Regions from separate parts of the Homo sapiens genome. Here regions 1, 2, 3, 5 and 6 are each linked to region 4. Evidence: promoter capture Hi-C in 16 types of primary human blood cells and fetal thymus (Javierre and others, 2016). All regions are on one chromosome and are shown on one strand. The core of a region is centred on a gene start or on the middle of the fragment in contact, and the rest is flanking DNA. Distances in the headings are between cores, read along the strand shown. Region 1 holds the start of KIRREL2 (kirre like nephrin family adhesion molecule 2). Region 2 holds the start of LRFN3 (leucine rich repeat and fibronectin type III domain containing 3). Region 3 holds the start of TYROBP (transmembrane immune signaling adaptor TYROBP). Region 4 has its middle 13 kb from the start of ZBTB32. Region 5 holds the start of ATP4A (ATPase H+/K+ transporting subunit alpha). Region 6 holds the start of GAPDHS (glyceraldehyde-3-phosphate dehydrogenase, spermatogenic).

Region 1 (4,523 bases), core at 1,804-4,303, 160 kb after region 4:
TTTTTGAGAGGGAGTCTTGCTCTGTCACCCAGGCTGGAGTGCAATGGTGCGATGTTGGCTCACTGTAACCTCCGCCTCCCAGGTCCAAGCGATTCTCCTGCCTCAGCCTCCTGAGTAGCTGGGAATACAGGCATTGACCACCACACCCAGCTAATTTTTGTATTTTTAGTAGAGACGGGGTTTCGCCATGTTGGCCAGGCAGGTCTCGAACTCCTGACCTCAGGTAACCCACCTGCCTTGGCCCCCCAAAGTGCTGGGATTACAGGTGGGAGCCGCTGCACCCCGCCACTTGGCTAATTTTTTTTAAATGTTTTTGCAGAGACAGAGTCTTGCTATATTGCCCAGGCTTGTCTGGAACTCCTGGGCTCAAGCAATCCTCCCATCTCGGCCTCCCAAAGTACTAGGATTACAGGCATGAGCCACCGCACCTGGCCCTTGATTTATCTTTCTTTTTTTTCTTTTTTCTCTTTTTTCTTTTTTTGAGATGGAGTTTCACTCTTGTTGCCCAGACTGGAGTGTAATAGTGTGATCTCGGCTCACTGCAACCTCTGCCTCCCGGGTTCAGGCGATTCTCCTGCCTCAGCCTCCCTAGTAGCTGGGATTACAGGCATGCGCCACCACGCCTGGCTAATTTTTTGTATTTTTAGTAAAGACGGGGTTTCTCCATGTTGATCAGGCTGGTCTCGAACTCCTGACCTCAGGTGATCAGCCTGACTCGGCCTCCCAAAGTGCTGGGATTGCAGGCGTGAGTCATTGTGCCCAGCTGATTTATCTTTCTATCTTTCTCCATCTGTTTGAGACTCTCTCGCTCTCTATATTAAGTTGTTAAATCTCAGTCAATCTTTATTTCACTGTGTCTCTCCATCTCTATATGTCTCTGTTATTCTGTTTCTCTGTCTCTGTTCTCACCTCTGTCGCTCCCCTCACCCCACAGTCTGTCTCACACACACCAGGAGCTCCATAAATATTTGTTCTCAGCCACACTCTGACCACGCCTCTTTCTCTTATGTGTCTCTCCATCTCCGAGTGGCTCTGCTCATCACATCCCTGGATTTTATAACCATATGCTGGTGGGCCTGCCCTCCCCGCGTGCACATACACTTGCCTGGGATAAGCTTCTTCTGCCTGCTTATCTCCTGCGGGAATTGGAAATGCTAGTTTTCTCCCTACCTCCCCAAGACCCCCGCCAATATCGTTCCCAGGAACAAGATGAGGCATCTGGCCTCAGCCCCCAGCTTCATCCTCGATGCTGGACTTCCATCTTCCCTCACATGCTTGACTCCTTGCCCTCCTCCCACCTCCCCTCTCCCAACTGCTCTCTACACCCCCTGGGAAATGGGCTGGATGCCGAGCTGGGGGAGTGGCTCTGTCCTGGGGGCCCTCGCCAGATGGTGTCCCTAGGTGCCAGAGCGTGGAGCTGTCCCTTGCTGGGGCCTTTAATAAGCACAAACCTTCCACCCTCCACCTTGGCTGTTTTCCTTCTCTGCATGCTCCTGGGACCTTGGGCTCTCCATCTTTCCATGTCCGTAGCCCCAGAGAGCCAGGAAGGGGAAGCGGCGTCAAGTGCCTGGAAAAACAGCCCCATGACTTGAGTTCCTCCCTAAGACTCAGGAGTTCCAGCCCCATGTCCATCCTATTTCAAAATCCAGGCACTAGATAAGCCACACAGAAGCCGGGAGTGTAGGCCCCCAGATCCCTCCCCTCTCAGACCCTGGGGTCTCAGTCCCTTCTCTCCAAGGACTCGGGAATTTGGGCCTCTGATCCTCCTGGCCACACTACCCACCCCCGCACCTCCCCATACACACACACACACACACACACACACACACACACACACACACACACACACATACACACAGGACTTAGGACAGATGTTCACGGTCTGATTTCCAAATCCTCCTGGGCCTGTGTGGGGGTGGGGAGAGATTGGCAGATAGATCCACCGACTCTTAAGACTTAAGACCAGATATTCTGACCCCTGTCACCCTCTTCCAAGTGCACCATGCACTTGAGTGCACCTTGAGTCTCCAGCCTCTCAAGGAACCGGGAGATCAGGCCATCAGCGTCTCAGCCAGCAAAGGCCTGAACCACCAGTCCCTTATAACCCTGTAAGTCCAACCCCCACTCCCAACCCCACTCCCCCATTTAGGGACACGGAGTCTGAGCCTAAGAACAGTGGAGAATCTGAATGTGGACCCTCCAGTTCTTACAGGTCCAGGAATGTCAGATCAGGGTCCCAGCCCCCCAGCCCTCCTTCAGGCTGCTCGGGGTCCCTCCCACCTGCTCGGCCAGCTGCGCAGCGTGGGAACGCCCCAGCTGGGCTGCATGGAGCCGTCAGGACAAGCTGCGCGGTTCCCAGCCTCCCTGCCTGCCCCGGCCCGGCACCGCCGCCTCCCAGCCGTCGCCGGGCAACCAGGCCGAGGGGCCCGGCCGGCCGAGTGGGGAGAGGGGTTGGGCTGGGACTGCGGGGTCCTGGGAAAGGAGGGGCCGAGGGCCTGGATTCCTGGGTCTTAGGACGTGCTGTAGTTTGCAGCAATAACAAGGGAACAGAGGGATATTTTGAGGAGGGGTTTTGAGGCTGGGGGAGTCGAGGTAGGGGTCCCAACTGTCCCCCAGGTATCGGTGTGCCCTCTTCCCGACACGCAGGCCCGGGGGAGCCCCGGACCCCGCATCCCCCAGGGCGCGGAAACTGGCGAGGCCCCAGGAGCTCCCATTTATAGCTCAGTTTCCACTGAGCGCAGTCCCTCTAGGACCTGGGCTGAGCAAGTTTCTTCCACTCTCTCCCTTCCCTCCTCCTCACCCCTTGCCTGCCCCTCAACCCCGGCAGGGCGCAGGTGTCCAACCCAGCCGGGACCCCCTCCCTCCTCGAACCCAGGTGTTCCGGCTCCCAGACCCCAATTGAGCTGGGGGCGCCCACCCGCCGGGGGATCCCGCCCTGCGTCCCCCATTCATCCGCGTCTCAGCCGCGGGAGTTTCTCAACGGGAAGAGGGCGGAGCTCCCGGGGGGCGGACCCGGGCGGGGCGAGCGGGATCGGGCCCTCTTGGGGTCTCCCAGAGACCCAGGCCGCGGAACTGGCAGGCGTTTCAGAGCGTCAGAGGCTGCGGATGAGCAGACTTGGAGGACTCCAGGCCAGAGACTAGGCTGGGCGAAGAGTCGAGCGTGAAGGGGGCTCCGGGCCAGGGTGACAGGAGGCGTGCTTGAGAGGAAGAAGTTGACGGGAAGGCCAGTGCGACGGCAAATCTCGTGAACCTTGGGGGACGAATGCTCAGGATGCGGGTCCCCGCCCTCCTCGTCCTCCTCTTCTGCTTCAGAGGGAGAGCAGGTACCGCACGAGGGGAGCGGAGGAATATGGGGTGGGGGTGGGGAGTTGCTTGCGGGCTGCCTCTTCACTAGCGAGAAGGGAGCTGGGGGCTGGGACTCCTGGGTCCTGAATGAGGAGGCCCCTGAAGGTGCTAAGCTCAGCCCTGCTGCCCCGAACTCTCCTAGGCCCGTCGCCCCATTTCCTGCAACAGCCAGAGGACCTGGTGGTGCTGCTGGGGGAGGAAGCCCGGCTGCCGTGTGCTCTGGGCGCCTACTGGGGGCTAGTTCAGTGGACTAAGAGTGGGCTGGCCCTAGGGGGCCAAAGGGACCTACCAGGTAAGAGTGTTCTCTCCACGCTGGGACGGGCTGGCTAGGGGGAGAGTTGCTGGGCTCGGCTGTACCTGCAGTTTCTATTTTGACATTTTCAAGTTTGGGAAATTGATGGGCTCGGGTAAACATTTAGGAGTCCTGATTTTTGAGCTGCTTCTTTGGGGGTGACCCACGGAGTTTGGGAATTATTATGTTATTGCAAAATAGTACATAGGCCAGGTGCAGTGGCTCACGCCTGTAATCCCAACGCTTTGGGAGGTTGAGGCCAGAGGATCGCTTGAAACCAGGAGTTTGAGACCAGCCTGGGCAACATAACAAGACCTTATCTCTACACAAATGTATATATATATTTTAAACAAATTAGCCGGGTATGGTGGTGTGCATCTATAGTCCCAGTTACTCAGGAGGCTTAGGTGGTAGGATTGCTTGAGCCTAGGAGTTCAAGGCTGCAGTGAGCCATGATCAAGCCACTGCACTTCAGGCAATGGTGAGACCCTGTCTCAAAAAAAAAAAAAAAAGAGAACATAAATGCAAAAAAGTACAGTAAATATAAATGGAAGATTTACCAAATAAAATAGACACACACAGCCAATACCCAAGTCCATTGCTAGCTCCCCAGAAGACCCCGTGTTCCTTTCCCCTATCATAGCCCCCTCCCCCTCACTCCAGAAGTAGTATCTAACCTAATTTTTATGGCAATCATTTTCTTGCTTTCCTTCCTGACTTTATTACCCCTAAGTTTGCAGTGACTCTGGGTTGGGAGGGAGTTAGAGTCTCTCTGGGCCCAGTACACACTTTTTAATAGTGTCTTACCACCAAATGTGTGGGCCAGTTTTCTGGTGGAGGATGTCTGGGGATGGAGGCCTGAGGCCAGGATTTCAGAACCATGGTG
Region 2 (4,627 bases), core at 2,128-4,627, 240 kb after region 4:
TCCCAGCACTGTAATCCCAGGTTGAGGTGGGCGGATCAACTGAGGTCAGGAGTTCGAGACCAGTCTGGCCAACATGGTGAAAACCCATCTGTACTAAAAATTTTTTTAAAAATGGCCAGGCACAGTGGCTCACGCCTGTAATCCCAGCACTTTGGGAGGCTGGGGTGGGTGGATCATCTGAGGTCAGGAGTTTGAGACCAGCCTGGCCTACATGGTGAAACCCCATCTCTACTAAAAATACAAAAATTAGCAGGGCATGGTGGCACGTGCCTGTAATCCCAGCTACTCGGGAGGCTGAGGCAGAAGAATCGCTTGAATCCGGGTGGCGGAGGTTGTAGTGAGCCAAGATCATGCCACTGCACTCCAGCCTGGGTGACAGAGCGAGACTCCGTCTCAAAATAAAAATCAGCCAAGCGTGGTGGTGCATGCCTGTAATCCCAGCTACTCAGGAGGCTGAGGCAGGAGAATAGCTTGAACCCAAGAGGTGGAGGTTGCAGTGAGCCGAGATCATGCCACTGCACTCCAGCCTGGGCGACAGAGCAGGACTCTGTCTTTAAAAAAAAAAGAGATGGGGGCTGGGCGCAGTGGCTCACACCTGTAATCCCAGCACTTTGGGAGGCCGAGGTGGGGGTATCACCTGAGGTCAGGAGTTCAAGACCAGCCTTGCCAACATGGTGAAACCCCATCTCTACTAAAAATACAAAAATTAGCCGGGCATGGTGGCACATGCCTGTAATCCCAGCTACTCGGGAGGCTGAGGCAGAAGAATCGCTTGAATCCGGGCGGCGGAGGTTGTAGTGAGCAAAGATCACGCCACTGCACTCCAGCCTGGGTGACAGAGTGAGACTCCGTCTCAAAATAAAAATCAGCCAAGCGTGGTGGTGCATGCCTGTAATCCCAGCTACTCGGGAGGCTGAGGCAGGAGAATAGCTTGAACCCAGGAGGTGGAGATTGCAGTGAGCCGAGATCATGCCACTGCACTCCAGCCTGGGCGACAGAGCAGGACTCTGTCTTAAAAAAAAAGAGATGGGGGCTGGGCGCAGTGGCTCACACCTGTAATCCCAGCACTTTGGGAGGCCGAGGTGGGGGGTATCACCTGAGGTCAGGAGTTCAAGACCAGCCTTGCCAACATGGCGAAACCCCATCTCTACTAAAAATACAAAAATTAGCTAGGCATGGTGGTAGGTGCCTGTTATCCCAGCTACTTGGGAGGCTGAGGCAGGAGAATCACTTGAACCAAGGAGGCAGAGGTTGCAGTGAGCCAAGATTATGCCACTGCACTACAACCTGGGCAACAAAGTAAGACTCTGTCTAAAAAAATAAATAAATAAATAGGCCGGACACTGTGGCTCACGCCTGTAATCCCAGCACTTTAGGAGGCCGAGGCGGGCAGATCACGAGGTCAGGAGATCAAGACCATCCTGGCTAACATGGTGAAACCCTGTCTCTAATAAAAATACCAAAAAAATTAGCTGGGCATGGTGGCAGACGCCTCTAGTCCCAGCTACTCGGGAGGCTGAGGCAGGAGAATGGCGTGAACCCGGGAGGTGGAGCTTGCGGTGAGCCAAGATCACACCACTGCACTCCAGCCTGGGCAACAGAGCTAGACTCTGTCTCAAAAATAAATAAATAAATAAAATAATAATAAAATGGGGTTATTTGTTTTTTGCTTGTTGCATTGTTTAAGTCCCTTATAGACTGAATTCCTCTTTATGTCTCTAAATACATTTGTCTCTTTGGTACACATCTGCGGTGCTACATGCCCTCAACCCACCAGGTTTTAGCATAGCTGTTGTGGTAGACAGTTCCGTGTGCAGTGCAGATAGCCCTGGTTCAGCCCAGCTGTTCTCAAAATGTGGTCCCTGACCAGGTGTAGTGGCTCACACCTGTAATCACAACACTTTGGGAGGCCTGGGAGGGAGGATTGCCTGAGGCCAAGAGTTCAAGACCAGCCTGGGCAGCATATTGAGACCCTGTCTCTACAAGAAATTTTAAAAATTAGCTGGATATGGCGATGCATGCCTGTAGTCTCAGTTACTCTGGAGCCTGAGGTGGGAGGATTGCTTGAGCCCAGGAATTTGAGGTTGCAGTCAATTATGATTGCACCAATGTACTGGGTGACAAAGCAAGACCCTGTCTCAAAAAAAAAAGTATGGTCTTTGAAAAGTCACATTAGCATCACCTGGGTACTCGTTAAAAATGCAAATGTTTGGGTCCCACCTCAGACCCACTGAACCAGAAACTCTGAGGTTGGGACCTGGAGATCTATGGTGCCCCCGGGTGATCCTGGTGGGCTGCACTGCAAGGACACCTGGCCTGGCTCCTGCAAGGCAAGGCATCCCTCTCTGCTTTTCTTTCTTTCTTTCTTTCTTTTAAAGACAGAGTCTCACTCTGTCACCCAGGCTGGAGTGCAATGGCTGGATCTCAGATCACTACAATCTCCACCTCCCGGGTTCAAGCAATTCTCTTGCCTCAGCCTCCCGAGTAGCTGGGATTACGGGCGTCCGCCACCACACCCGGCTAATTTTTGTATTTTTAGTAGAGACGGGGTTTCTCCATGTTGGCCAGGCTGGTCTCCAACGCCTGATCTCAAAAGATCCGCCCGCCTTGGCCTCCCAACGAGCCGGGATTACAGGCGTGAGCCACCGCCCCCGGCTGTCAGTGTGTCTTGAGGTCTTTCCCTAATCCCAGATGGCACAAGTTTTCCCTCTTGCAGGCAGAGAAAGGAGCCTTGGGAAGGAGCCCCTCTGGCCTGAAAGATCAAGCCTATTGCTGGGCATGGCCAGGTAAGGAAACTCCAACCGTGGAAAGGACATTCCAGGGAGGTGGTGCTGAGATAAGGGGGGCAGAAAGAGACAGGTTTGGGGGGCCAGTGGCTCTGGAATGAAGCGCTACACTCAAGGCTAGGAATAGTTACTGAATGCACATACACACATACCATTCTCACAGCCCAGGTGCTGCGTCTTAGAGCGTGTGAGTGTGTATGTGTGTGTCTGTGTGTGCGCGCGCACGCACGTCTCTATCTCTGTTTCTGTCTTTCTCTGACTTGTCCTTATCTCTTGTCTCTCCATCACTCTCTGTGTCTCGCTGTCTCTGTGCATTTCCATGTCTCGAATATGTGTGTGTTTCAATCTGTCTCTCTGCCTCTTTCCATTTTCTCCTCTCTATCCATCAATCTAAGCCTGCCCATCTTTTTGTCTGCCTTTCTGTATCTCCGTTCTTCTCTGTCTCTCTGTCTCAGTCTCTCTGTATCCAGGGATTCTCTTTCCCAGCAGCGCCAGTGCGACTCCATGGGAGGTGGGGCCGGGGCGCGTCTTTGAGAGAAGGGGCGGGTGCCTACGCCTTTAAGCGCGGGTGCGCGCGGAGCCTGCGCCTTTAAGCGCCGGTGCGCGCGCTGCCCTGGGTTGCCGGCGAGGAGGCCGCGGGAGCGCCTGGACCCGGCCCGCCCAGCCCGGCCCCCGCCCGGCCCCCGCCTCGGCCCCGGCGGGGGAGGGGTCTCTGAGCGCGGCCCCTCCCCCCTGCGCCCCCGCCTGCGCTGCGGTGCCCCCATCCCGCGTGTCCCAGTCTGTCTGACCGTCCCTCCGCTCCCAGGCCTCGCCCCACCCGGCCCTGGGGCTGCCCGGTCGCCCCCCTCCCCACCGCAGCCGGTCCCCTCCCTCCCAGTCAGCCTCCGCCGCAGCCCAGGAAGCCAGCCGGGACGCCGCCGCCCCGGACCCCGCGCCCTAACCTCCACCTCGGGGGCCTGCACCCCCAGATTGAATCGGGAATTCCGGAAACCCGAGCCTGGAACCCTGATCTGGGACCAGCACCCCGAGATCCGGCCGTGGAACCCCAAGATCTGGAGCCTGAACCCCAGTATATGGGGCTGGAATCTCAACATCGGTCACTGGGACCTCAATATTTGGAGCCGGAACCCCACAATTTGGAACACAGACCCCAATATTTGGAGCAGAACCCCAAGATTTGACATCTAAAACCTCAAGCCTGGAGCTGAACTCTGAATTCTGGGCCTGGGACCTTGAAATCTGGGACTGGATTTCCAGTACTGTACCCTGGAACCCACTCTTGGGGACCTGAACCCTGGGATTCAGGCCTCAAATTCCAAGATCTGGACTGTGGGATTCCAAGGGGCCTGAACCCGAGTTTGGGCCTGAAGTCCTTGCTGCAGACCTGAGTGCTTAAATCTGGGGCTTGAGACCTCCCAATCTTGACTCAGCACCCCAATATCTGAATGCAGAACCCCGGGATCGGATCTCAGACTCTAAACCCCACCGTTTGGCTGCTTAGCATCCCAAGACTGGACCTGGGAGACCCTGACCCTGAACAACCCAAACTGGACCCGTAAAACTGGACCCTAGAGGCCCAATATTTAGGGGTCTGGAACCCCGAGTATTAAGGTCTGGAGACTCCGTTGCCACAGATTTGAGCCGAGTCAGGACACAGTCCCTCTACAGAAGCCTTGGGGACAGGAAAAGCATGACCAGATGCTCCCTCCAGAGCCCTGACCTCTGACTCCCCTGGAGCTAGGACTCTGCTCCCTGGGGCTGCTTCTAGCTCAGGTAAGGCTGCTGAAACCTCAAGGTGGGGACGGGCTGGGAGGAGCATTGTGGCTGCGGGTTACGGTACC
Region 3 (4,688 bases), core at 629-3,128, 220 kb after region 4:
ACATTTACACTGCTCTCAGATTATATGCACAATTTTGTATTTTTTGTGTAGATTTTTCTGGGAGTCTAGATTTTCTTAGTTTCTCAAAGGGATGAAGGGTCCTCAAACCCAAAAAAGAGATTCTAGGACTCCTCTCTTTAGAGTTACCAAGGTAGGGCTGAATGACATTCTCTGCCCTACTGAGAGCGTCTCCCAGAAATCAGTCGTCCTAGGGCTGGGTTTCTTCCAGAAAATTCCTGGCCTGACTTCTGGCAAGGCCTGTGTTTACACTTACAAAGGCAAAGCCACCCTTTTTTTTTTCTTTTTAACTCTTCACGCTTTTTTTTTTTTGACAGAGTTTTCCTCTTGTTGCCCAGGCTGGAGTGCAATTGCGTGATCTTGGCTCACTGCAACCTCCGCCTCCTGGGTCAAAGGATTCTCCTGCCTCAGCCTCCCAAGTAGCTGGGATTACAGGCATGCGTTACCACGCCCAGCTAATTTTGTATTTTTAGTAGAGACAGGGTTTCACCATGTTGGTCTCGAACTCCTGACCTCAAGTGATCCACCCGCCTCTGTCTCCCAAAGTGCTGGGATTACAGGTTTGAGTCACCGTGCCCAGCCCCTCTTCACACATTTTAAGCTGACCATAAGCTTGTGGTTGATCATTCGGCCCAGTTTTGGACAGATGTCCCATGTGCCTTCAAGGTTTGGGGGTGCTTTAGGCAGAGTGGCTTTGAGGTCCCTCTGATGGCATGAAGGAGTATCTGGGGCAGATATCCCTGGCAGGAGTGAAATGTGAGGAGGACAGTCTGGTTTTCTCACCTGATAAGGCGACTCGGTCTCAGTGATACGCTGTTTCCGGGTCGCTGCTGGAGGTGAGGGGTGTTGTGGGGTGCAGAGACAGGCAGAGTGGTGAGTTGAGGGTGTTTTGTCATTCCAAATCAGCACCTCCATTACCATCCCTTTGGATGTTTGAGATCTGGGAGTTTACCCAGCCCCCCACCCCCATCTAGGCAAGTCCTCAGGATGTCCCCTGCTAGCCCCACTCACCCTCCGCAGCCCCTCGCCCCCGAGGGACCAGCCGGCCCAGGAAGTACACGGCCAGGGCAATGAGCACTGTCAGCACCAGGTCTCCCATCACGATCCCTGCCAGCACGCCCGGGCTCACCGTAGAGCAACTGCAATCTGCAGCACAGGGGTCAGGGGAGGTCAGTGTGTGCTGGGAACTGTGGGGAGGGGGGTCAGCGGCAGGGAGGTTTGGAAAGGGTGTGGGAGAGACGGAGACAGGGAGGTCTCTGGGAGGTAGAGAGAGGGACTGCTGGGTCTAGGCCTACCGCTCTGGGCCTGGGCCTGGACAGGACGGAGACCTGAGGAGGAAAAAGAAGGTAAACTGAGGCACAGAGTTATGACGGGGGTGGGGGAGGCAAGTTTAGAAGCCAGGGAAGGTGGATCCTGACAGCCAAGAGGTTAGCAAGGGGGAGAGCGTGTCTGGCGGGACTCAGGGGGCTGGCGTCTGGGCCACCGGACTATGTGCGTTACTTCTGCACAACTTGTCCTGTGGCAACACACTTAGATGTCTCTTCTCCCCTGCTTGTAGCGGACGACAAAACTTGGGGGCTTGGGCTCTGGGAGAAACCCACAGGCTTTGGGAGGTTGGGGACCTGCTCCCATCCCAACACCCACTTTTGGTTCTCTCGTTCCACCCCACTCCCTGCCCTGCCCCAAGCTGAGCCCAGGGACCCGGGAGGCAGCCACGGAAGCCCCTAACTCACCACTTACAGCCAGCAGGAGAGGCAGGAGCAGGAGCCTGCTGCAGGGTTCAAGTCCCCCCATGAAGCCGGATGCTGCTGGACACCACAGTGTAAGGGCCGGTGGGATGTGGCGCAGCGTCCAGGCAAGTGAAGGAGGAAGTCTGAGGCGGGTGGTGGCAGAAGGGAGGAGGAGACAGGGGAGGAGAGACAGAAACAAAACCCAAGAAAGAATCAGGCCCAGACACCCAGGGGCCATGCCACAGGCCCCCAGCAACTAGACGTGAAGGGCAAAGGGTACGTGAAGCACAAACTTCACCTCCGTCCCCAGTCAGGGGTCAGACATCGTTTTAACAGGAGGGTCAGTGTCATGACCTTCCTCTGGCTGATTGAAACCAGCTCTGCCTCTTCCTGGCTGGTCAACCTTGAGTGCAATGGCACGGTCTCGGCTCACTGCAACCTCTGCCTCCCGGGTTCAAGTGATTCTCCTGCCTCAGCCTCCCAAGTAGCTGGGATTATAGGCGCCTGCCACCATGCCCGGCTAATTTTTTGTATTTTTTTTTCTTTTTTTTTTAGTAGAGACAGGGTTTCACCATGTTGGCCAGCTGGTCTCAAACTCCTGACCTCAGGTGATCCACCCACCTTGGCCTCCCGAAGTGCTAGGATTGCAAGTGTGAGCCACCGCACCCAGCTCCAACCTCAGTTTCTTCATCTGTAAAATTGGGAGTAAAATGGGACCTACTTTTTAGAGTTGTGGGGATTAAATGAATTAAAGTTCCTAGACCAGGGTCTGACCCTTGTCAGCTTTTTAAAAGCATCAGCTATGATGATGATTATTTAATCATCAGAAACTTGTGCTGTTTAAAGGATATTAAAAGAGCCAGCAGCATGTGGGCACTAATGACATGCAGGCACTCTGTCCCAAGCGTTAAATCATTCAGTCCCCGCAATGCCCTTCTAGGGCACATGCTCTTATCATCCCCATTGTTCAGAGAGGTAGAGACGCTTGCCTAAGGCTGCACAGCAAATCAAGGTGGAAATGGAACCCAAGACCCAAAATCAGGTTTTTGACTAGGGAAGAGTCAGGGGGAAAAACAAAGATGAAAGATGGGGAAGGAGAAAACAGCGGCAAAGCTGAGAAAGGTGAGAGTAAGGCAGTGGCACAGACACAGAGGCACGGCTGGCGGCTTGGGGAGAGGCAGGTGGCTGGCTCTCCTGCTGAATGAGGAAGTGGCTGGGAGCAAGGCCCAAGGGAGGCCACCCCAAGGAGACGGGGACTTCTAGCCCCCAGCTGGAGCCTGGGGCTGGGGAAGGAGGAACCTGAGGTTAGGGTGCTGGAGGATGAGACAGCTGCAGGAAGCCCCCCTCCCCCATCCACACGTCACACCCACCGCTCCTTGGGCCTGGGCTTAGGAGAAAAAAGGGGAAACTGGATTCTGGTCACAGGGCAGATGCCCAGTGGCCTGTGGGGGAAGGGAGGAGAGGAGATTTGGAGCCTGGAGGAGGGTCAGGTCCCAGCTCAGCCCACGGTCACCACTGTTCAGGCCTGGCTGAGTCCCCTCCCTTAAAAACCCAAGCCTCTCCCATTGTGTCTAGAGCGAGCATGGAGGGAACAGACCCTGTAGGTCCTCCCGGGCACACCAGGCCACCCAATGTGTTGGAGCAGAGTGGGCGAGGGGGCAGTCAGAGACCAGAGCAGGGCTCTGAGCCAGGAGGGCCCTGACCTGACTCAGGGGTTCACAGGTTCCCTCCGGCCGCAGGTGGGGAGCAGACTGTGGAGGCAGGGACTGGAGCAGGGAGGCCAGGCTGCTGGGATATTTGTGAGGATATTGTGAGGTCTATTAGAATAATGCCTGGTTGAGTTCAAGACCAGCCCGGCCAGCATGGTGAAACCCCATCTCTACTAAAAATTAGGCTGGGCACGGTGGCTTATGCCTGTAATCCCAGCACTTTGGGAGGCTGAGGCGGGCGGATCACGAGGTCAGGAGATCGAGACCATCCTGGCCAACATGGTGAAACCCGGTCTCTACTAAAAATACAAAAAATTACCTGGGCATGGTGGTGGGCACCTGTAGTCCCAGCTACTCAGAAGGCTGAGGCAAGACAATACCTTGAACCTGGAAGGTGGAGGTTACAGTGAGCTGAGATCGCGCCACTGCACTCCAGCCTGGGCGACACAGCAAGACTCTGTCTCAAAATAATGATAATAATAATAAAGGGCCAAGCGCGGTGGATCACGCCTGTAATCCAACACTTTGGAAGACCGAGGTGGGCGGATCCCCTGAGGTCGGCAGTTCGAGACCAGCCTGACCAATATGGAGAAACTCGGTCTTTACTAAAAAATACAAAATTAGCCTGGCGTGGTGGCGCGTGCCTGTAATTCCAGCTACTCAGGAGCCTGAGGCAGGAGAATCGCTTGAACCCAGGAGGCAGAGGTTGCAGTGAGCAGAGATTGCGCCATTGCACTCCAGCCTGGGCAACAAAAGCGAAACTCAGTCTCAAAATAATAATAATAATAATAATAATAATAATAATAATAATAATAATAATAAACTTTCACTCCTGCTCTAAAACTTACCTTGGTTTCTCACTCTGCCTTATGTCCCTTGGTCAAATTCTTTTTTGAGGAGGCAAGGATTGAGGTTGCTGCAGACCCCTATGGATTCACTGCTGCGAACATACTTCGGTACCGTGTGACTTGGATATGTTCCATGCTAAAAATTAGTATGTCCAGTCTCGAGTTCTCAGCTTAGCTTGATAAAAATCCTCCCTCAGCCAGGTGCAGTGGCTCACACCTGTAATCCCAGGCGTGATTTTGGATTTTGGGACTTTAGGAGGCCAAGGAGGGTGGATCACCTGAGGTCAGGAGTTTGAGACCAGCCTGGCCAACATGGTGAAACCCTGTCTCTACTAAAAATACAAAAACTAGCCAGACATGGTGGCAGGCGCCTGTAATACCAG
Region 4 (4,639 bases), core at 2,110-4,609:
GCTGATCTCAAACTCCTAAGGCTCAAGTGATTCTCCTACTTCGACTTCTCAAAGTGCTGGGATTATAGGCATGAGCCATTGTGCCTAGCTAGTTTTTTCCTTTAAAAACCACACTGCTGACCAGGCGCAGTGGCTCACGCCTGTAATCCCAGCACTTTGGGAGGCCAAGGCAGGAGGATTACCTGAGGTCAGGAGTTCGACACCAGCCTGGCCAACATGGTGAAACCCCGTCTATACTAAAAGTACAAAAAAATTAGCCGGGTGTAGTGGTGCACACCTGTAATCCCAACTACCCAGGAGCTGAGGCACGAAAATCCCTTGAACCCGGGAGGCGGAGGTTGCAGTGAGCTGACATCATTCCACTGGACTCCAGCCTGGCCGACAGAGCGAGACTGTCTCAAAAAAAAAAAAAAAAAAAAAAACCCTGCAAAAGAATTTAATGGCATGAAAAAAATGCTTGGGAAATTGTGACATGAGAAAAACAGATTACAATGTAGCATGCCAAGTATGATTCCTTCCCTGATAAAAATATAAATATGTGCATGTTTGCATTTTTTTTAAAAGAAAGTCTTCCAAAGGTTATTGAGGAAGAGGACACATTTGCAGGGGATCTTTACTTCATTCCTTGGACATTTTGGTATTTTGCAAATATTTTATGATGACTATTGCCTTTGTCCTCTAACAAAAAATCAAGAAATATATCTTAGTTAAAATGTCCCTGCTGGACATAAAATGTACATTGAGAAGAGAATTATCCTACTAAATATTTTCAAACTTTATCTGAGCAGTTAAGGTGTCCGGAATTGGTGGGTTATTGGTCTCACTGACTTCAAGAATGAAGCCGCGGACCCTCGCGGTGAGTGTTACAGCTCTTAAGGTGGCGTGTTTGGAGTTTGTTCCTTCCGATGTTCGGATGTGTCCGGAGTTTCTTCCTTCTGGTGGGTTCCTGGTCTCGCCGGCTCAGGCAGGAGTGAAGCTGCAGACCTTCGCGGTGAGTGTTACTGCTCATGAAGGCAGTATGCACCCAAAGAGTGAGCAGCAGCAGGATTTATAGCAAAGAGCAAAAGAACAAAGCTACCACAGCACGGAAGGGAACCCCAGCGGGTTGCCGCGGCTGACTCGGGCAACCTTCTTTTATTCTCTTATCTGGCCCCACCCACATCCTGCTGATTGGTCCATTTTACAGAGAGCCGAGTGGTCTGTTTTGACAGGGTGCTGATTGGTGCGTTTACAATCCCTGAGCTAGACACAAAGGTTCTCCATGTCCCCACTAGATTAGCTAGATACAGAGTGTCCACACAAAGGTTCTCCAAGTCCCCACCAGAGTAGCTGGATACAGAGTGTCGATTGGTGCATTCACAAACCCTGAGCTAGACACAGGATGCTGATTGGTGTGTTTACAAACCTTGAGCTAGATACAGAGTGCCGATTGGTGTATTTACAATCCCTGAGCTAGACATAAAGGTTCTCCACCTCCCCACCAGACTCAGGAGCCCAGCTGGCTTCACCCAGTGGATCCCGCACTGGGGCTGCAGGTGGAGCTGCCTGCCAGTCCCACGCCGTGCGCCCGCACTCCTCAGCCCTTGGGTGGTCGATGGGACTAGGTGCCGTGGAGCAGGGGCGGCGCTCGTCGGGGAGGCTCAGGCCGCACAGGAGCCCACGGGGTACGGGGAGAGGGGAGGCTCAGGCATGGCGGTCTGCAGGTCCCAAGCCCTGCCCCGCGGGAAGGCAGCTAAGGCCCGGCGAGAAATTGAGCACAGCAGCTGCTGGCCCAGGTGCTAAGCCCCTCACTGCCCGGGGCCGGCGGGGCCGGCCGGCCGCTCTGAGCGCGGGGTCCACCGGGCCCACGCCCACCCGGAACTCGGCGCTGGCCCGCAAGCACCGCGCGCAGCCCCGGTTCCCGCCTGCGCCTCTCCCTCCACACCTCCCCGCAAGCTGAGGGAGCCGGCTCCGGCCTTGGCCAGCCCAGAAAGGGGCTTCCACAGTGCAGCAGCGGGCTGAAGGTTCCTCAAGTGCTGCCAAAGTGGGAGCCCAGGCAAAGGAGGCGCCGAGAGCGAGCGAGGGCTGTGAGGACTGCCAGCACGCTGTCACCTCTCAGTAAGACAGGTCAGGGCTGGGCACAGTGGCTCACGCCTGTAATCCCAGCATTTTGGGAGCTGAGGCAGGAGGATTGCTTGAGGCCAGGATTTCCAGACCAGCCTGGCCAACATAGTGAGACCTCATCTCTCCAAAAAATTTAAAAATTAGCTGGCCATAGTGGTGCGCACTTGTAGTAACCGCTAGTCGGGAGGCTGAGGTGGGAAGATCGCTTGAACCCAGGAGGTAGGGGCTGTAGTGAGCTGTGATGGTGCCACTGCATTCCAGCCTGGGCAATAGCAAGACCCCGTCTCAATAATAATAATAATAGGCCAGGACTTGCTAGATGGGAGGCCGGGGTTTGACCTGACCTCTGACCTCTGGGCAGTCAGGTAGGTAGGCCGCCATCTCTGACCCACATCTGCCACTTGGCTTTCGGGCTCCATCCTACCATATACCTGCAGAGTGTGGCTCAGTCAGACCGGCAGCAGCGTGGCCTCACCCAGGCGGGCCTGCCTGCAGGACAGGTTTGTCCGCCCCAGCCCCCAAACTCAGAGGCCGGCTCCTGTGGGTAAGAGGGGAGCAAAGAGGTCAGGGCTATGTCAGGGCCCGGACCCCTTGAGGGACAGGCAGCCATTTGATGGCTGTTCCCCCCACACCCCAGGTGACTGCATCCCTCCTCAGCCTCTAACCCTCCACGGCTCTCCAGCGCCCTCCTCACCTCGCACTGAGGGCCCGTGTGGCTTGGCCCCTTGCCACCTCTCCAGGTATCTCTTTCTCTCTCTTGCTCCACTGAGCCAAGCTCTCTCTCTCACCATCTGAGATCACAGAATGGAAATAAGAAACTGTGTTATATAGCAATCAAGCCAGGCACATGCCTCTGACTACATCCACTTTTGCTTACACTCCTTCCATGAGGGCAAGTTGGTTCTTTTTTTTTTTTTTTAACTAAAACGTAAAAACACACACCCCTGCCCTTTCCTCAGGTGTCCCACGCCCACCAATTCCTCCTCTCTGGTCCCCGCGTCCTTGGCTGGTGTTAGAAAAATGGCTACAAGCTTCCTGGGAATCAGATAATAAAGCTTACAGGAACTCTTCCCAGATTTAAAAGAGCTTAATAAATAAATAAATAAAGCTTACCTTCTAGAGGGGAAAATAGATAAAACCAATAAGAAAAACACATGTTAGAGGCTAATAAGTGCTAAGGAGAAAAATAAAAGAATGAAAGACAAAACAAAAACCTAGCCGGGCGGGGGGGCGCGGTGGCTTACGCCTGTAATCCCAGCACTTTAGGAGGCCAAGGCGGGAGGAACGCTTGAGGAGTTCGAGACCAGCCTAGGCTACATAGTGAGACCCTGTCTCTACAAAACAATAAAAAAATTTTTAAAAATCGCTGGCCATGGTGGCAAGCACCTGCATCACAGCTGCTCAGGAAGCTTAGGCAGGAGGATCACTTGAGTATGGCAGTCGTCGCTGAAGTGAGCCAAGATGGCACCACTGACTCTGTCAGCCCAGATAACAGTCTCAAAAAAAAAAAAAAAAAAAAGATGACTGGGCATGGTGGTTCACACTTGTAATCCCAGCACTTTGGGAGGCTGAGGCAGGCAGATCACCTGAGGTCAGGAGTTCGAGACCAGCCTGGCTAACATGGCGAAACCCTGTTTCTACTAAAAATACAAAAATTAGCTAGATGTGGTGGCATGTGCCTGTAATCCAAGCTACTCAGGAGGCTGAGATAGAAGAATCACTTGAACCTGGGAGGTGGATGTTGTAGTGAGCCAAGATCGTGCCACTGCACTCCAGCCTGGGTGGCAGAGCAAGACTCCATCTCAAAAAACAAAAACAAAACAAAACAAAGCAAAAAACGGTGAGAGGGCCTGGTGCCCCCTCTGGAATGTTTTTCATTGTCTAGGTTTGACACTGTGCTGTGCCATCACGTGTGGGGCTGGGGAAAGTGCAGATTCCGGGGCACACGCCTGCCCTTGGAGCAGGGATGGAGTCAGCTCCATCTATAGGGTCTGGTCTGGGAGGAGGGAGAGGGTGCTTGCCCAGAGCAGGCTCAGACCCTAAGCCTGAGCCTAGGGAAGGGTGAGCCGACCCTGGAGGCAAATGGACCACAATCCCCCCTCCCCATCAACCTTCACCAGCGATTCCGGGATAAATGACACAGACAGCACTGAGAATTCCATGGTAGTCGTTATTATTACTGTTGTTTTTATTAATAGCAGGGGCCCCATCACTTACCTGTGGGTTATCAATTTATTACCTCTCAGTTCCATTTGTCATCTGGTGCCAGGTTAGGCTTTGTCAATAGAGGGCGCTGGAGAGCCACTGAGGAGCCAGGGCCCCTCTGCCTCACTCCAGGGCTTTGTGTTCTTCCTACTGCGCTGTGACCAGCAGGTGGCTGCTATGCTCCACATTATAGGGAGTGACCTCCACTGCCACCCTCTCCTCCTTCTCCCTCCTCCTCCTCCCTCCTCCTCCCTCCTCCTTCTCCCTCCTCCTCTTCCTTCCTCCTCCTCCTCCCTCTTCCTCTTCCTCCCTCCTCTTTTCTTTCATCCCT
Region 5 (4,489 bases), core at 349-2,848, 130 kb before region 4:
TGGCCAGGCTGGTCTCGAACTCCTGACCTCAGGTGATCTGCCCGCCTCGGCCTCCCAAAGTGCTGGGATTACAGGCATGGGATTACACGCCCGGCCTCCAAATCCCATCTCTTACGTATCACATTGCCATACTCTTTATGCCCCCACCTATGTCCCCATACCCAAGATTCACCCCAGTGTCCCTGTGTCCTGTGTCCTTGGGTCTGCCCCATCCATATCCCAATGTCCTTCACCCTCCATGACCCCTGTCTTGAGACTGCCTTTCGTGTTCGTCTATCCCCATCCTTCTCTGCCCCTCTTGTCCCAAGTCCCAGGCTCAGTGTCTTCCATCCCCAGGTCCCCATGTCCTGAGCCTGTCCCCACAACATGGCTCACATTGTCGTCGGTGGTGAGGTCCCCCTCACTAGCCTGGATGGCAAAGGCGATGAGGCAGATGGCGGCGGCAACCCACATGAGGCACTGCAGGCCCCCGGCCAGCTGCCTCGCGAACTTGACGTACTCTGGGGTGCCCCGTGGTGGCCGCAGTGCGTTGGGCCCATCCCGCAGCAGCAGCTCAGCAGCCAGGCTCGCAGAGAGGCCCTGGGACAGAGGGGCAGGGCGAGGCGGTCCTGGGGGCTTTCCTCCACATGCACACCCCGTGGAAAGCCCCCTGCTTCAGTTTCCCTTCTCCAGCTTGGTCTGTCCTGCTCCTTCTCATCTCTTTGTCTCTTGGTTCCTGCCCCCACCCCATCTCTCCCTCCCTCCTTCATCTCTCCCTTTGTCTCTCTCTCCTCGCTCCCCTTTCTATGTGTCTCTCTCCTGCTGCTCTCTCCTTATTTGTCTCTGCCTTCTCTGTCTTGCTGTCTCTTTTCAGCTACTCCTCTCTCCGTCTCTGTGTGTCACCCTTTCTCTCTAATGCTTTCTCCCTTCTCTCCCTCTCCCTCTCTCTCCCTCTCTCCATCTCCCTCCCTCTCTCCTCCCCTCCCTCCATCCTTTCCTCTCTCCCTCCCTCCCTCTTTCCTTTTCTGCCTCCCTCCCTCTCTCTATTTCTCCATATCTTCCTCTCTTCATCTCTCCCTCTCTCTCCCTCTCTCCATCTCCCTCCTTCCATCTCCCTCTCCCTCCCTCTCTCCTCCTCCCCTTTCTGTACGCTCCCAGTCTCCAGCTCACCTTGGTGGCACTGGTCTGGTATTTCTGTTCCAGCTCCGCCACTGACAGCTGGTGGTCGTTCTGTGTGGTGGGGTGGGGCAGGGTGCTTGCTCTGGGCTCTCCTGGCCCCCTCCCCGCCCACTGCCTGGTTCCCAGCCTACCCTCCAGCTCCCGCCCCTCCCCAGTCAGAGCTCACAATCTCCATCTCCTTCTTCATGTTCTCCAGCTTCTCCTTCCTCTTGCCACCCCCGCCACCCGCCTTCTTCTTCTTGCTCATCTTGGCAGCCATGTCCCCGCCAGGGCCAGGACCCAGCTCCACCGAGTAGAGCTCATAGTTCTCCTGGGAATGGACAGGATGGAGGGAGGGAGAACTCAGATTCCACTGCAACCCCTGTCCCCACTGCACCCCGGACCCCTGGGCCCCACTCACGGCCTTCCCCATGGTGCCCGGTGCCTGTGCTCCCACCCAACAGAGCCTGGGCCCGGACCAGTCCTGATATACCCAGGGAGGGCGGTGGGGTGGAGCAGAACCGCCCGACCACAGCTGATTACAGGCTCCTTGGGGTGACCTCTAGGCCTGGGCACCTCAGGCATTCCCTCCTGGGCTGGCCCCCCCCTCCCCTGCCCAGATCCCCCCATGTCAACCTGCCCTGAGATCAGGGAGCCCCTGGGAACCGCTGCAGCAACAAGAAGAGCAAACATAAGGTGCTCATTATGCGCTGGGCATTGTGCTGACGGCTTCCATGTGCTAACTTATTTAACCTTCCAATAACCCTTTGAGGGGACAAGACCCTTTACAGATGGGGAAACTGAGGCATGGAGGGGTTGAGTCATTCTCCTATGGCTCCATCACAGGCTAGGACATAATGGAGTGAGAACCAGATCAGCTGGCTGCAGAGTGTCCTCTTTCAGTCTAAATAGCACGTGCCTGATCAACTGGAAGAGGAGGGTGCTCCCACACTCTTTTTTTTTTTCTTTTTTTTTTTGAGATGGAGTGTCACTCTGACACCCAGGTTGGAGTGCAGTGGTGCAATCTCAGCTCGCTGCAACCTCCGCCTCCCGGGTTCAAGTGATTCTCCTGCCTCAGCCTCTTGAGTAGCTGGGACTACAGGCACATGCCACCACACCCAGCTAATTTTTGTACTTTTAGTAGAGACGGGGTTTCACCAGGTTGGCCAGGCTGGTCTCGAACTCCTGACCTCAGGTGATCCACCCGCCTTGGCCTCCCAAAGTGCTGGGATTACAGGCGTGAGCCACCATGCCCTGCCATGCTTACAACACTCTCTATGGTGGCTGAATGTTTACTGAACTCTGACTATTCACTATGGGCTGGGTGTGCTCTGTGTGTCACTCAAATGGTTTCCTTAGCATCTAACAGCAGCCCTGTAAAGCAATATTCTCTTCTTAGCCCCCATCAGGGACTTTGCAGAAGATTTCAACGTCTAAGAATTAGGGACAGGGTTCCAGCCCGGGCTTGACCCCAGGGCTTGACCCCAGAGCCTAGCTCTTCTATGGCACCACCAATGGAAAAACCCAAACTTCACTGCAGCAGCACCACACACATGCCAGGCTCTGCACGTGTGACCTCACGGGTCTTTGCAAAAAACCCTGTGCAGGCAGAACTATCATTCCTGTTGTGCAGAGGGGGAAACTGAGGCTCACAGGGACTCACATATCCAGCTACAGACTTTACAGCTCTCAACCATTCCCCGTCCCTACCCTAGATGGGGAAACCAAGGTGCAACATGGGGAAAGGATGTGTCCAAGGGTCTTGGCTTGATCTTGGTGTTGGGTGACAGATGCCAGGAGGCCTGGGGACTCCCTCCTCATCCCTCAGGTAGGGACCTCCATGGGCAGCAGCAGCGAGGGGCTGGGCCAGTGGAATGGTGGGGACCTTGGTATGTTATGGGGTGAGCGTGTCTCCAGGAGCAGGTGAGCGTGCGCCTGATAAGATAACTGCCCTGGCAATGTCCTTCTCTACTGGGGCAGGTCACCTGGGAAACTCAAAGCTGTTGGGCAGCCAGAGCTCCTCCCCGCACCCACACGGCTGGTCATCCCCAGCCTGCTAGAAGAAACCTCCAAAGAAGAGGTGGCGTGGGGCCACATGCTGTCCTTGTAGTGAATCTACTCGCTCACTGGGCTCCCATCAGCTCTGAGCCATGTATGTCAAACAGCTTGTGTCACCCCCTGCTTACAACCCTCCAAAGCCTTCCCTTCCCACTCAGAATAAACTCTGCACTCCTTCCTGCAACATCTGGCCCTGGTCACCTGTCCTGCCTCTGTTGCTGCTAGGTTTCCAGGGGCACTGACCTCTCTGCTGCACTTTGCACAGACCAAGGTCGTTCCTGCTTCAGGACCTTGGTACTTACAGTTCCTTCTGCCTGGGCCCCCTTCCTTAGATGTCTGCACTGGCTTTCTCACCTCTTTCAGGTCTCAGCTCAAATGTCACCTCTTCAGAGAGTCCATTCTGTAATACTGCACACTGTGTTCTGTTCCTTTACCCCACTGTATTTACACCTCCTACTCCAACCTGACACTGTGTTTTCTTTTTATTTGTTTGGTGTTCATTAGAAGGAGGACTGGGCCGGACACTGTGACTCACATCTGTAATCCCAGCACTCTGGAAGGCTGAGGTGGACGGATCATGAGGTCAGGAGTTCGAGACCAGCCTGGTCAACATGGTGAAACCCTGTCTCTACTAAAAATACAAAAATTAGCTGGATGTGGTGGTGTGTGCCTGTAATCCCAGCTACCAGGGAGGCCGAGGCAGGAGAATCACTTGAACCTGGGAGGTGAAAGTTGCAGTGAGCCGAGATCATGCCACTGCACTCCAGCCTGGGTGACAGAGTGAGACTCTGTCTCAAAAAAAAAAAAAAAAAAAAATAGAAAAATAGATAGATAAGAGATGTTAGACAGATAGATGGATACATAAATGATAGATGATTGATAGATTTTTTTTTTTTTTCTTTTTGAGACAGAGTCTTTCTCTGTCGCCCAGGCTGTAGTGCAGTGTCATGATCTCGGCTCACTGCAACCTCTGTCTCCTGGATTCAAGCAATTCTTGTGCCTCAGCCTCCCAAGCAGCTGGGATTACAGGCACCCGCCACCATGCCCAGCTAATTTCTGTATTTTTAGTAGAGACGGGGTTTCACCATGTTGGCCAGGATGGTCTAGAACTCCTGGTCTCAAGTGATCCACCCGCCTTGGCCTCCCAAAGTGCTGGGATTACAGGTGTGAGCCACCATGCCTGGCCAGAATTTTTTAAATTTTTGGCTGAATCATTTGGAAGCAAGTTGGAGACAGGATCCCCTTTATCCATACTTAGGCATGTGTCTTCTATGAATAAGGACATTTTCTTACA
Region 6 (4,174 bases), core at 1,390-3,889, 160 kb before region 4:
GTTGCCCAGGTTGGAGTGCAGTGGCAATCTCGGCTCACTGCAACCTCCGCCTCCCAGGTTCAAGTGATTCGCCTGCCTCAGCCTCCCGAGTAGCTAGGATTACAGATGCATGCCACTACACCTGGCTAATTTTTGTATTTTTAGTAGAGATGGAGTTTCACCATGTTGGCCAGGCTGGTCTCAAACTCCTGACCTCAGGTGGTCTACCTGCCTCGGCCTCCCAAAGTGCTGGGATTACATGTGTGAGCCACTGCACCCAGCCAAAATCAGCCCCTTTTGAATCCTGGTTTTGTTGAGGTTATATTTTTCACCTCCTTGATTGTACACCAAAATGTAGCTCCCTTTGTTTAATTAATCATCTGTGTTTTGGTCTCGGTTCGTTAAAACCTCCTCACCTGTACACTTAGTTTACTTTCTTCTCCCAGGCCATCAAAGCAGGAGAGCCTCACCCTGCCCTGGTCCCATGGCAGGTGCTTGGCAAATGAATTTCTCATGGATGTTGGCGGAAGGAAGAGGTTATGTCATTCTGCCCCTTCTTGCATCCATCCCTCTCTGGGATGGTGACTCCTTCCTGGCACAAACCCCCACTCCCCCTGAACCTTGGTCACAGCTGCGTGTCAACCTGCTGTGCAGGTGATGGTGCCTGCCTGTGAGTCACTGAGGTGCAAGCAAACCCCTACCCCGGGGCTGCAGGGGAGGGAGCTGTTTGTCCACTTGTTCTTTGTCAGACGTTCATTGAAAACCTGCTTTGTATTGTTCTAAGTGCTGGAGGCACAGTCGTGAACAAACAAACAAGAACAGGAGCCCTGTGAGGGGCTTAGAGCCCAAGGGGGAGACATCGAACAAATAAACCAATCAGTAGATCATGACAAACTACATGAAAAGCTACAAGGAAAAGAATGGGTGCTGCGAGAAGATATAACGTGAAGAGTTTGATAAGATTGGCGATCAGGGCCGGGCGAGGTGGTTCACGCCTGTAATCCCACCACTTTGGGAGGCCGAGGCAGATGGATCACCTGAGGTCAGGAGTTTGAGATCAGCCTGGCCAACATGGTGAAACCCCGTCTCTACTAAAAATACAAAAACAAAAAAAAAATTAGCTAGGTGTAGTGGCGCACGCCTGTAGTCCCAGCTACTCAGGAGGCTGAGGCGGGAGAATCACTTGAACCCAGGAGGCGGAGGTTGCGGTGAGCTGAGATCGCACCATTGCACTCCAGCCTAGGCAACAAGAGCGAAACTCTGTCTCAAAAAAAAGAAAAGAAAAGAAAAGATTAGCGATCAGATGAAACCTGAGGAATTGACATTTATTCATTCAGGTATAGTTTATTGGGCTAACGCCTTTTTCAGACAGGGTCTTGCTCTGTCTCCCAGCTGGAGTGCAGTGACACAATCACAGCTCACTGCAGCCTTGACCTCCTAGGCTCAAGTGATCCTCCCACCTCAGCCTCCCTAATAATTGGGACAACAGGCATGCACCACCACACCTGGCTACTTTTTTTATTTTTTGTAGATACAGGGTTTTGCCACATTGCCCATGTTGGTCTCAAACTCCTGGACTCAAATGATCCTCCCACCTCAGCCTCCCAAAGTGTTGGGATTACAGGCATGAGCCACTGCGTCCAGCCCACAAACACCTTTCAGGTGCCAAACACTTTTCTTGTCAATGGGATACAGAAGTGACATAGATGACGTCCCTGTCCTCTCAGAGCTTACAGTCTGGTGGACAGAGACAGTTGGCAAGAAAACAAACAATTTTTAGAGAGACATGTGCTCTAAGGAAAATAAAAACATAGACAGTGTAGCCCTAGAGAAATTTTGCACACTGAAGCATAACTCAGAATGGAGAAGTCAGACAAGGCTTCCTGGAAGATGGGCAGAAATTGGGAAGGGGGTGACGGCTGACAGTGACAGAGAAAGGAGGGAACTTAGATGCAGAGTGTAGAAAGCCTCTCTTAAAGGGTGGGAAACCAAGAGGCAGCCAAGGGAAGCCCTGGGTGGGCCTTCCAGGCATACGGAGGCAGCAAGAGTCACTCCACTGGAGAATCCAAGGGACAGCATGGAACCTGTGTGCTTCAAGAGACAGAGAAGAGGAAAGGGCTTTCAGGAACAGTGTAAAAGGTGGGATTCCAGGCTGGGTGTGGTGGCTCGCTCCTGTAATCCCAGCATTTTGGAAGGCCGAGGTGGGAGGATCGCTTGAGCCCAAGGGTTCTAGACCAGCCTGAGCAAAAGAGTGAGACCCTCTCTCTACAAAAAAATAAAAAGTAAAAATAGCCTGCAGTGGTGGCTGCACATGTAGTCCCAGCTACTCAGGAGGCCGAGGCGGGAGGATCGCTTGAGCCCAGGAGTTCAAGGCTGCAGTGAGCCATGATTGCACCACTGCACTCCAGCCTAGGAGAAAGAGTGACACCCCGTCTCAAAATAAATAAACAAATGATAATTTTAAAAAGTGGGATTCCATTCCAGACGGCAGTGCGTGGCCGTGGAACGGTGATGCATAGCGTGCTGACGTCCCATGCCTCTACGGGGATGGGATGCGATGGTGTCAGGCCTCTGGCTTGGGCGCCGCCCCTCGGCGACGTCACTGGGTACTGTGACGTCACTGGGTGCTGTGACATCAGGGCAATTAGCCCAGGACCCACAGCCCTGGCGCTCCGCACGCACCTCGGTAACATCACAGCAGGTCCAGGCCAATGATAACCTTATAAGAGGCCATGTCGAAGCGCGACATCGTCCTCACCAATGTCACCGTTGTCCAGTTGCTGCGACAGCCGTGCCCGGGTGAGGGAGGCAGCGGAGGGCGCGGGGGAGGGGTGGAAAGGGTAGTGGGGAGCGTCTGCACCCTCACACCTGTGCCGTATCCCTACCGCCCTTCCTGGCGTGTGCACCATCTAGGGACCAGGGGATCAGCCGCTCTCCCTCCCTCCACACCCGCCAGTGTGCTGGCAGAGTGGGGTTTACTGCCATGGCGGGGAGACCGGGCCTCCGCCCCCAGGGCTGGGTGGGCTTCGCGCCGCTATCACGCGGTAGAAAGAGCAGAAACGAGGGCCATCGGAGGCTGCAGCCTGAAAGTGGCGGGAAGTGGGCGGGCTTAGGAGGGGCTTAGGGAGAACCCAGGGGTGCTGGGCTTCCATGTAAAAGTGATGTTCATGGCGCTTCGCGTGAGGTGAGCTTTGCCCTCCCTGTGATGCACAAAACAAGGACACTTGGAACCTTGCCGGGGACGTGCTGACCACTTCGCAGGCGAGAGCTCAGGGAAGCCTCACCACCACCTGAGAAGGCCAGAGTGTGCCCGCAGTTTACAGAGCGGCCAACAGAGGTTAAGAGAGGGCAAACTACTTCCTTAGTCTCTCAACAAGGGCGGCGCGCCCGCGCGCGCGCACACACACACACACACACTCACTCACTCACTCTAGCCGGAGGAACCAGGTCTTCCGGTGGGCTGCCTCCATTCCCACACTGTTCCCTCACTTCCCAAGGGCGGGGGCCGCAGGGGTAGGTGGGGCTGGGGCTTTGGTCCAGGAGACCCTGGAAGACACAGGAGCAGACAGGCTTACCAGCCTCATGAGACTTGAACCCCTGCCCTGCGCATCACTGCTCCGTGGCCTCAGGCTTCATTTTCCCCTCTGTAAAGTGGGTTTATAGCGCATGCCTCTCGGGATTCAGTGGGAGGACGCAGTGAGGAGCTGGGGGCAGCACCCAGCTAGCCCCCAGGCTTTTCTCCAACCGGGGGACCCCACCCCTACAGTGGAGGGGAAGAGAGTGCAAGGCTGGGAGTGCTGGGAGAGGAGGACCATCTGAGTTTTCTTCGGAAGGGTCACCCATTGGGCTCAGATTCCCACCTGAACCAGGTGGACAAATCCCCTTTCTCCCATAGCAGAAACAACCCCCAAGGATGCAAACATCCTCAAGTTCACCAATAAACACTAACACCTTCATGAACTTGGACAGCCACTGGAAACACCTATAGTCCAGCCTCAGGCCACAAGGTCTGTGGCAACAGGGAGAGGTCAGGGAGACAGACAGGCCAGCTGGCCCCCGGCTCCCAGCCCCACCACCCCCCAGGTGCCTTTGATTTGGTGCCAAAAACTTGGACTCCCACTACCCCCTTCCAGCCCTTCTCCACCCCCTGCTGTCTCCCTTTCCTCAGGAATCTGTGTAGGATCAGACTTCCCTC

Evidence for each region. The method cuts DNA at HindIII sites, captures the fragments that hold promoters and counts their contacts. A CHiCAGO score of 5 or more calls a contact.
Region 1: a contact is called between the fragment with the promoter of KIRREL2 here and a fragment that was not itself captured in region 4, in 13 of 17 cell types (M1 macrophages, M0 macrophages, activated CD4 T cells and 10 more). The highest score is 11.0, in M1 macrophages.
Region 2: a contact is called between the fragment with the promoter of LRFN3 here and a fragment that was not itself captured in region 4, in 16 of 17 cell types (erythroblasts, activated CD4 T cells, M0 macrophages and 13 more). The highest score is 16.9, in erythroblasts.
Region 3: a contact is called between the fragment with the promoter of TYROBP here and a fragment that was not itself captured in region 4, in 13 of 17 cell types (activated CD4 T cells, total CD8 T cells, naive CD4 T cells and 10 more). The highest score is 14.0, in activated CD4 T cells.
Region 5: the fragment with the promoter of ATP4A here is called in contact with a fragment that was not itself captured in region 4 in 11 of 17 cell types (megakaryocytes, erythroblasts, naive B cells and 8 more); the score reaches 23.1 in megakaryocytes.
Region 6: a contact is called between the fragment with the promoter of GAPDHS here and a fragment that was not itself captured in region 4, in 3 of 17 cell types (monocytes, M2 macrophages and M0 macrophages). The highest score is 6.1, in monocytes.

What each region holds. Positions count from the first base shown.
Region 1 is chr19:35,853,858-35,858,380 of GRCh38, forward strand. KIRREL2 (kirre like nephrin family adhesion molecule 2) reads left to right here and starts at 3,054. Exons shown (of 15, transcript NM_199180.4): 1 at 3,054-3,323; 2 at 3,488-3,637. The coding sequence starts at 3,263. The HindIII fragment of the contact is 4,263 bases long and covers 1,114-4,523 here.
Region 2 is chr19:35,932,997-35,937,623 of GRCh38, forward strand. LRFN3 (leucine rich repeat and fibronectin type III domain containing 3) reads left to right here and starts at 3,378. Exons shown (of 3, transcript NM_024509.2): 1 at 3,378-4,559. The HindIII fragment of the contact is 21,793 bases long and covers 1-4,627 here.
Region 3 is chr19:35,906,417-35,911,104 of GRCh38, forward strand. It overlaps TYROBP (transmembrane immune signaling adaptor TYROBP), which reads right to left and starts at 1,879. Exons shown (of 5, transcript NM_003332.4): 1 at 1,752-1,879; 2 at 1,314-1,346; 3 at 1,030-1,164; 4 at 802-848. The coding sequence starts at 1,812. RefSeq lists a silencer at 891-1,044 and enhancers at 2,856-2,985, 3,136-3,185, 3,286-3,395. The HindIII fragment of the contact is 5,164 bases long and covers 629-4,688 here.
Region 4 is chr19:35,689,527-35,694,165 of GRCh38, forward strand. No RefSeq gene overlaps it. Among named protein-coding and RNA genes, the nearest start is that of ZBTB32, 13 kb to the right of the region's middle. The HindIII fragment of the contact is 301 bases long and covers 3,210-3,510 here.
Region 5 is chr19:35,562,060-35,566,548 of GRCh38, forward strand. It overlaps ATP4A (ATPase H+/K+ transporting subunit alpha), which reads right to left and starts at 1,599. Exons shown (of 22, transcript NM_000704.3): 1 at 1,559-1,599; 2 at 1,325-1,468; 3 at 1,150-1,209; 4 at 376-579. The coding sequence starts at 1,570. RefSeq lists an enhancer at 2,754-3,255. The HindIII fragment of the contact is 9,853 bases long and covers 1-4,489 here.
Region 6 is chr19:35,530,817-35,534,990 of GRCh38, forward strand. It overlaps GAPDHS (glyceraldehyde-3-phosphate dehydrogenase, spermatogenic), which reads left to right and starts at 2,640. Exons shown (of 11, transcript NM_014364.5): 1 at 2,640-2,778. The coding sequence starts at 2,712. RefSeq lists an enhancer at 3,497-3,626. The HindIII fragment of the contact is 5,250 bases long and covers 1-4,174 here.